Linked DNA regions of Homo sapiens: region 1 is linked to region 2. The links are contacts of gene promoters, found by promoter capture Hi-C in human tissues and cell types (Jung and others, 2019). All regions are on one chromosome and are shown on one strand. The core of a region is centred on a gene start or on the middle of the fragment in contact, and the rest is flanking DNA. Distances in the headings are between cores, read along the strand shown. Region 1 has its middle 36 kb from the start of PRLHR. Region 2 holds the start of PRLHR (prolactin releasing hormone receptor).

Evidence for each region. The method cuts DNA at HindIII sites, captures the fragments that hold promoters and counts their contacts. A contact is called where the count stands out against the background at its distance.
Region 1: a contact is called between a fragment that was not itself captured here and the fragment with the promoter of PRLHR in region 2, in 1 of the 25 tissues and cell types used here (dorsolateral prefrontal cortex).

The regions. Positions count from the first base shown.
Region 1 is chr10:118,629,941-118,633,375 of GRCh38, reverse strand. No RefSeq gene overlaps it. Among named protein-coding and RNA genes, the nearest start is that of PRLHR, 36 kb to the right of the region's middle. The HindIII fragment of the contact is 7,725 bases long and covers 1-3,435 here.
Region 2 is chr10:118,594,193-118,597,992 of GRCh38, reverse strand. It overlaps PRLHR (prolactin releasing hormone receptor), which reads left to right and starts at 2,345. Exons shown (of 2, transcript NM_004248.3): 1 at 2,345-2,477; 2 at 2,743-3,800. The coding sequence starts at 2,749. RefSeq lists enhancers at 960-1,768, 1,769-2,577, 2,578-3,386. The HindIII fragment of the contact is 7,132 bases long and covers 1-3,800 here.

The DNA of each region.
Region 1 (3,435 bases), core at 933-3,432, 36 kb before region 2:
CCTCATTCTGACAGGCAGACCCTGGCAAGACTCCTGAGAGATGTTATTCCTTAGAACTTGGGATCTGCCCAGCTTCCAGGTCCTCTTCTGATCCATTTCTCCAGTCTTCTTGTCACTTCCATGAGCCTAACCAATAACCTTCTGATAGACCCCTTTTTGTTTACATTCTCCAGCGTTAGTTTCTCTTGCTTGCAACCAAGGAGCCCTAAGTCACCCACAGGCTTGTTGGGAGACAGCAGAGAGTGAATCTGTTGTGTGAGTGTGTGTCTGCCTCAGAGCCTGGTATACATGGGCATTCATCCAATGGGATTTTCTCCCAGTCTCTGCCTAGGAGATCAGAGTTTATGAAAGTGGAGGAGATAGCCTGAGATAAGCAACCAGGACAAGGTCAGGCTCACCAGAAAGAGTCGAGGCTCTGTCTCCTGTGAGGACTCTACTTCCCTGCTTTAGTTCATGTGTTCTCCTTGGAGAGAACAACTGCCTTGCTCTCTGGGATACTTTTCTCATTGCCCTCTGACTCCTTAGGGTGAGGGGGAAAAGTTCAGAGGAGGGATTGGAGGGGACCACTAATCCTGAGAATGGGGGCAGCCAGGCTCTGGTGGAGGGTACCTGTCCACGTCCCTGCCAGTCTGCTGAGCCTGTCTACCTGCCCTCCAGAGCAGCAGAGCTGGGATGTTTTTAGATTGCATCACCAAATGCAGAGATGAGCTGCTTGAAGCCCCATCAATTTGCCTAAACCTTGGCCCTGGCAAATCCTGCCTCTCCCACTAGACAACAATCATAGCATCCAAACAGGTCAGTAAGAAACAAATGTGCATTGAGTGGCATTAAATGTGCAAAACCACTTCAGAATCACCCACTCTCTTTTCTTAAAAAAATCTATTTTGTGAGAAATTAAATTGCATGGAAAAGTACTTGTCTTAGTCTGTTTAGTGTTGCCATAATGGAATATCTGAGGCTGGGCCATTTATAAAGAAAAGGGGTTTCTTTGGCTCATGGTTCTGCAGGCCATACAAGCAGCATGGCACTGGCATTGATTCAGCTTCTGATAAGTACCTCAGGCTGCTTCCACTCATGGAAGAAGGTGAAGGGAAGTGGGCATGTGCAGAGCTCACGTGGCAAGAGGGGAAGCAAGAGAGCGAGGGGGAGGTACCATGCTCTTTTCAACAACCAGCTCTTGTGGAGATAATGAGAACTCACTCATTATCTCAAGGGCAGCACTAAGCCATTCATGAGGGATCCACCCCCCTGACCCAAACACCTCCCATTAGGCCCCACCTTCAACACTGGGGATCAAATTTCAGCATGAGCTTTTGGGGGAGCAAAAATCTAAACCACCAACCAAAGTACAAAAAGAATATAACCAAGACATTGTCACCACTTAAATTAGTAGCTGTTAACATCCTATTTTCTTCCATACTTAAATAAATAAGCATTAGCAATGGAGGTACAGTCCTGTTAAGCTATGTTGACCAATCCCATTTCACTCCCCACAACCATCCCGAGTTAACCTGTAGCAGGAGGTTACTGTGGATGCTTCCAGTCTGCAATAAGTACACACATGCTTCCATGTCCTTGAGCAGGATTCATACGTGTGTTTTCAAAATTGACACAAATGGCATTGTTCTAGACACATTTGTCATCTTGCTTTTCCCATCCAACATTGTTTTTGAAATCTGTGTTGACATATATGATCTGGACACACACATATACTTCCGTTTAACTGTGAAGTATTACATGCTGTGTACCCACCACTTTACAATGACTGCTGGACATCCGGGTGGGAATTTCTCCCTAACTCTGGTGGCTGTGCCTGTGCCTGCCTCCCTGAGGCTGTGTGTGAGTCTCTCAAAAGGAGACTGGGTGTGCATTTTCAGCTTTACCAGGTCCTGCCAAAGGGCCTGTTTCACTCCCTCCAGTGCGGCTTTCCCCTGCTGCCCCTGTACATCTTACAGGGGCCTCCTCTTCTCTGATGATGGGTGTGTGATGGTTTAATACTGAGTGTCAATTTGATTGGATTGAGGGATACAAAGCATTAATCCGGGGTGTGTCTGTATGGGTGTTGCCAAAAGAGATTAACATTTGAGTCAGTGGACTGGGGAAGGCAGATCCACCCTTAATCTGATGGGCACAATCTAGTCATCTTACAGCAAATATAAAGCAGGCAGAAAAAAAACATGGAAAGGAGAGATGGCCCTAACTTCCCAGCCTACATCTTTCTCTTGTGCTGGATGCTTCCTGCCCTTGAACATCGGACTCCAAGTTCTTCAGTTTTGGGACTCAGACTGGCTCCCCTTGCTCCTCAGCTTGCAGACGGCCTATTGTGGGACCTTGTGATCATGTAAATTTATACTTAATAAACTCCCATATATATATGTGTGTGTGTGCGTGTGTGTGTGTGTGTGTATATATATATATATACACACACACACACACGCACACACACACATATATCTCCTATTAGTTCTGTCCCTCTAAGAGAACCCTAATACAGGTGGCCACTCCCATCTTCCTGGTTTCTCTCCTTCCCTGCTCCTTTTCCTTTCATGCTTGCTTTACTGGCTTTTCTTCCTCCCCTCCTCCCTACTTGGGGCATTCACCTAGAGCTCTCCTCCAGCCTCTCTAGCTTTTGTTCATGGCAGGAGCCTCATGGTCCCAGAGTGAGGCAGGTGTAGCTGAGATGTGTCTCACCTGGCCAGCACAATGTTCTTGAATCATTTTGAATCTCCCTCAGGTACCACACCCACTGTTTTATACCAGCCACATTGGCACTCGTAGTAGAGATGGTAGGTGGGTTCACTCAGCATCCATTCCAACCCACTTCTAGGATACCCTCCTCTCTGGTAGAGGCTGGGAAGCTAAGATCTGCCTGTCCCAAGCTCCTTGCAGGAATGGCTCTGGATGGGATTCAGATTTATCAATCAGATGCACTTGCTTGGGACATGAATTCAGAACTAAGTGGGGAGGTTTGCAGCACCTATTTTCCGTGCTGGATTCCAACAGGCACAACATGACTCTGGAGCCAACAGCCCTAGGAGCAGCTTCCTGAACCCTGGCCACCAGAGGTGGAGACCTCCAGCCAGTAGCTATTTGGTACCTCCTCAGCTTTTTGATTATAGCAGAAGTGTCAATTCCCTTCCTTTGGCGGAGCAGTTCTGTGATGTTTTTTAGGAATCTCCTCTCAGCCTACAGACTATTTATTCCTCCATCCCTTCCAATGCCCCTGTAAGTACCCAATTCCCTGACTTAAATTCACTTCTCCTTAAACTAGCTAGATAAAGGGGAACTGAGCTGCAATTGAAACCTGACCAATAGAGTCCCTGATGGAGTGGAGTGTTTGATCCCTGATTTATTCCCTTCCTTCCTCTGAGAGCATATTCTGACTTCAATTTCATTTACTCAATTATTGAATCATCCACAAATATGATTAAGCCT
Region 2 (3,800 bases), core at 1,096-3,595:
CTTAAGAGATTTTGAAACAAAAGAGTGCCCCTGCTCTTGGGTGCATAAAACCCTGCAGGTGAAAATGATGAGAAAAATTACTGGGCAAGGTATTAGGCAGGCACTGATTGTATCCTATTTAGAGCTCTGCAATTAAAAAAGTATATATAATACTGAGACTGGGTGCAGTAGCTCATGCTTGTAATCCCAGAACTTTGGGAGTCTGAAGCGGGAGGATTGCTTGAGCCTAGGAGTTCAGTCAGCCTGGGCAACATGGCAAAACCTCACCTCTACAAAAAATTAGGCCAGGCGCAGTGGCTTACGTGTGTAATTCCAGCACTTTGGGAGGCCGAGGTGGGCGGATCACGAGGTCAAGAGATCAAGACCATCCTGGCCAACATGGTGAAACCCCGTCTCTACTAAAAATACAAAATCATCTGGGCATGGTGGCACGTGCCTGTAGTCACAGCTACTCGGGAGGCTGAGGCAGGAGAATCGCTTGAACCTGGGAGGCAGAGGTTGCAGTGAGCTGAGATCACACCACTGCACTCCAGCCTGGCGACAGAGCAAGACTCCGCCTCAAAAGAAACAAATAAACAAAAATTAGTCAGGCATGGTGGTGTGCACCCGTAGTTCCAGCTACTTGAGAGGCTGAGAGGTGGGAGGATGGCTTTGGCCTGGGAGGTTGAGGCTGCAGTGAGCCATGATTGTGCCACTGCACTCCAGCCTGGGTGACAGAGTGAGATCTTGTCCTAACATATACATGTATATATACACACACACTGGTTTTAGCTAAATTGATTATAACTCAGGGACCGTGAGCTTAGGATGGACAGAGGTGCATAACATTGATTACTTTTGTTCCAATATTGACTTTTTTCTATATGAGTGATTCATTTAAATTTGGAGGGTGGAATAAATTGATATTAGTTTCCAGTCTAACTGGAATATCTGCAGCCAGAGGACAAAGTACAAGGACTTATCAGAGAGGAGACAATGAAGCTCCATGCTCTGGAAAAAGGAAACAAGAGGCTGAGGGAATGAGATAGCTTCTAAGGAGGGAGCTTACAAAGGCCCCTCCTCCCCTGGCTCTTGCCCCGTGGGCCAGGCTAATTTGCATTTCAATGAGGACTTAATACTACTGAAGATTTTATGAAACGCCTAAGCTTCTCAAATGTTTGTTACTTTTGTTACCCTAGCTGAAATCTGCAATTACCAGTATTTTTAAAAAATCCTAAAATGAAGAGAAGAGGCCTGTGGGTGTTCAGTCAAGGAGGGAGGGGTCAAGTCTCAGTCCAGGAACTACTCTGTGCTGGGAGAAGCAGCCAGATACGGCACAGGTCGCGGTAGCCGAGAAAGAAAGCGAGAGAAAGGGTGAGCCGGGGAGTCGCTGGGCCAGACTGAAGTGTGCCTGTGTAGAATAACTGGCAGGAGAGCTGCATTTTCTGACCCCGGGAGGTAAAAGACGACGCCGTCCTTGGCACTGAGTGCGGTGACCACCAAGAGGAGCAAAAGTCATGAGTCTCCGACCCCCAGGCCCCCGGCTCAGCTGCCTCCACTCCACCCTACTCTTCTCAGCCCCAGCCCAGAAAGCAGGCAGCGAGGCAGGTCTTTGAACCGGACCAGGTTCCTTCCCCAAACACCCGGATCCAGAGAGGGGCAGGAATTCCCTAGTCATTTTCCCCTGCTCCTCCCCACATCATCCGCCCGAGGGGCGGCAGATCCAGCGGAAGCTGTCCGTGGTGCTGACTCCTGCCTTTGGCTTGGCCGGACCCGCTGCCCGCTGAGCGCGCTGCAGCCAAGCAGGGGGCTCGTGTGGCGGGGCCACGGGAGGGTGAGGGTCCTCAGGTCCGCGACCAGCTCCAGGCTCTGCTGTTAAATCCCAGCCCGAGCCCTCTAGCGTCTCTGCCCTCCGCAACCTGGCCGCTAGGCAGGATCCAGCCTTTAAGAACGGGTCAGTCGTGCCTCTCTCAAGCCCCCAGCTGCATTGCAATCTCCCACCGCTACTTCCTTCCCCGCTCCTTCCCTCCTAAGACTGCACCGGCTCCTCCCGATAGCCTGACGCTTCGCGCCTCTCCTCCGCCCTCCTCCACTGTGCGCTCCTCCGGACCCTGACCCTCCAGGGGCCGTGCAAGCTCCTGCAGTAGAGATTCGTCCTCTTCGCTGCTCTGGCCAGGTTTGCCGGCCCCTCCTCCCGTTTCGGATTCCATCCTCCCCACACTGTCCTCTTCACTAGTTCTCTAAGCACCGAGCATGGCAGAGCGCGCTCCACCCCTATTTTCCATACATGGGAGCTGGAGTGGGGGGCGGAGCTGAGGGGAGGCGCTCCCAGTCCCTCTAAGAAGCTGCTAGCCCACTGGGAAACATTTGGATCCGTTCAGCTCCCGCGGAGAAGCGAGACCGGATCACCGACGTGGGCAGAGGACTACCGAGGGCCAGCAGAAATTCTGCCCCTTCTTCCCGCGAGTGCTTTCCCGCTCTCCAAACCCCACTCCCAGGTAGGATCGCGCTCCTGAGTCTGCCTGCGTGGACTGCGAGGACCGTAAATAGAGGCGGAAGCGTTTAAATAAACCGTATGTTCTAACCGTGCTTAGGTTTATTTTACAGAGGTGAGAGGACAACACTTTTTGCTACTTTTGCTGTTGTTCTGTGGCCGGTTATTCCCAAGGGAGGACTCAGGCGATGGGGGAGGGGCGCGGCTGGTGTAGGAGGTCGGATGGAGTATGGCAAGGGAAGTGACGGACTTTGATTACCTTTGAACAGGTGGCCATGGCCTCATCGACCACTCGGGGCCCCAGGGTTTCTGACTTATTTTCTGGGCTGCCGCCGGCGGTCACAACTCCCGCCAACCAGAGCGCAGAGGCCTCGGCGGGCAACGGGTCGGTGGCTGGCGCGGACGCTCCAGCCGTCACGCCCTTCCAGAGCCTGCAGCTGGTGCATCAGCTGAAGGGGCTGATCGTGCTGCTCTACAGCGTCGTGGTGGTCGTGGGGCTGGTGGGCAACTGCCTGCTGGTGCTGGTGATCGCGCGGGTGCGCCGGCTGCACAACGTGACGAACTTCCTCATCGGCAACCTGGCCTTGTCCGACGTGCTCATGTGCACCGCCTGCGTGCCGCTCACGCTGGCCTATGCCTTCGAGCCACGCGGCTGGGTGTTCGGCGGCGGCCTGTGCCACCTGGTCTTCTTCCTGCAGCCGGTCACCGTCTATGTGTCGGTGTTCACGCTCACCACCATCGCAGTGGACCGCTACGTCGTGCTGGTGCACCCGCTGAGGCGGCGCATCTCGCTGCGCCTCAGCGCCTACGCTGTGCTGGCCATCTGGGCGCTGTCCGCGGTGCTGGCGCTGCCCGCCGCCGTGCACACCTATCACGTGGAGCTCAAGCCGCACGACGTGCGCCTCTGCGAGGAGTTCTGGGGCTCCCAGGAGCGCCAGCGCCAGCTCTACGCCTGGGGGCTGCTGCTGGTCACCTACCTGCTCCCTCTGCTGGTCATCCTCCTGTCTTACGTCCGGGTGTCAGTGAAGCTCCGCAACCGCGTGGTGCCGGGCTGCGTGACCCAGAGCCAGGCCGACTGGGACCGCGCTCGGCGCCGGCGCACCTTCTGCTTGCTGGTGGTGATCGTGGTGGTGTTCGCCGTCTGCTGGCTGCCGCTGCACGTCTTCAACCTGCTGCGGGACCTCGACCCCCACGCCATCGACCCTTACGCCTTTGGGCTGGTGCAGCTGCTCTGCCACTGGCTCGCCATGAGTTCGGCCTGCTACAACCCCTTCATCTACGCCTGGCTGCACGACAGCTTCCGCGAGGAGCTGCGCAAACTGTTGGT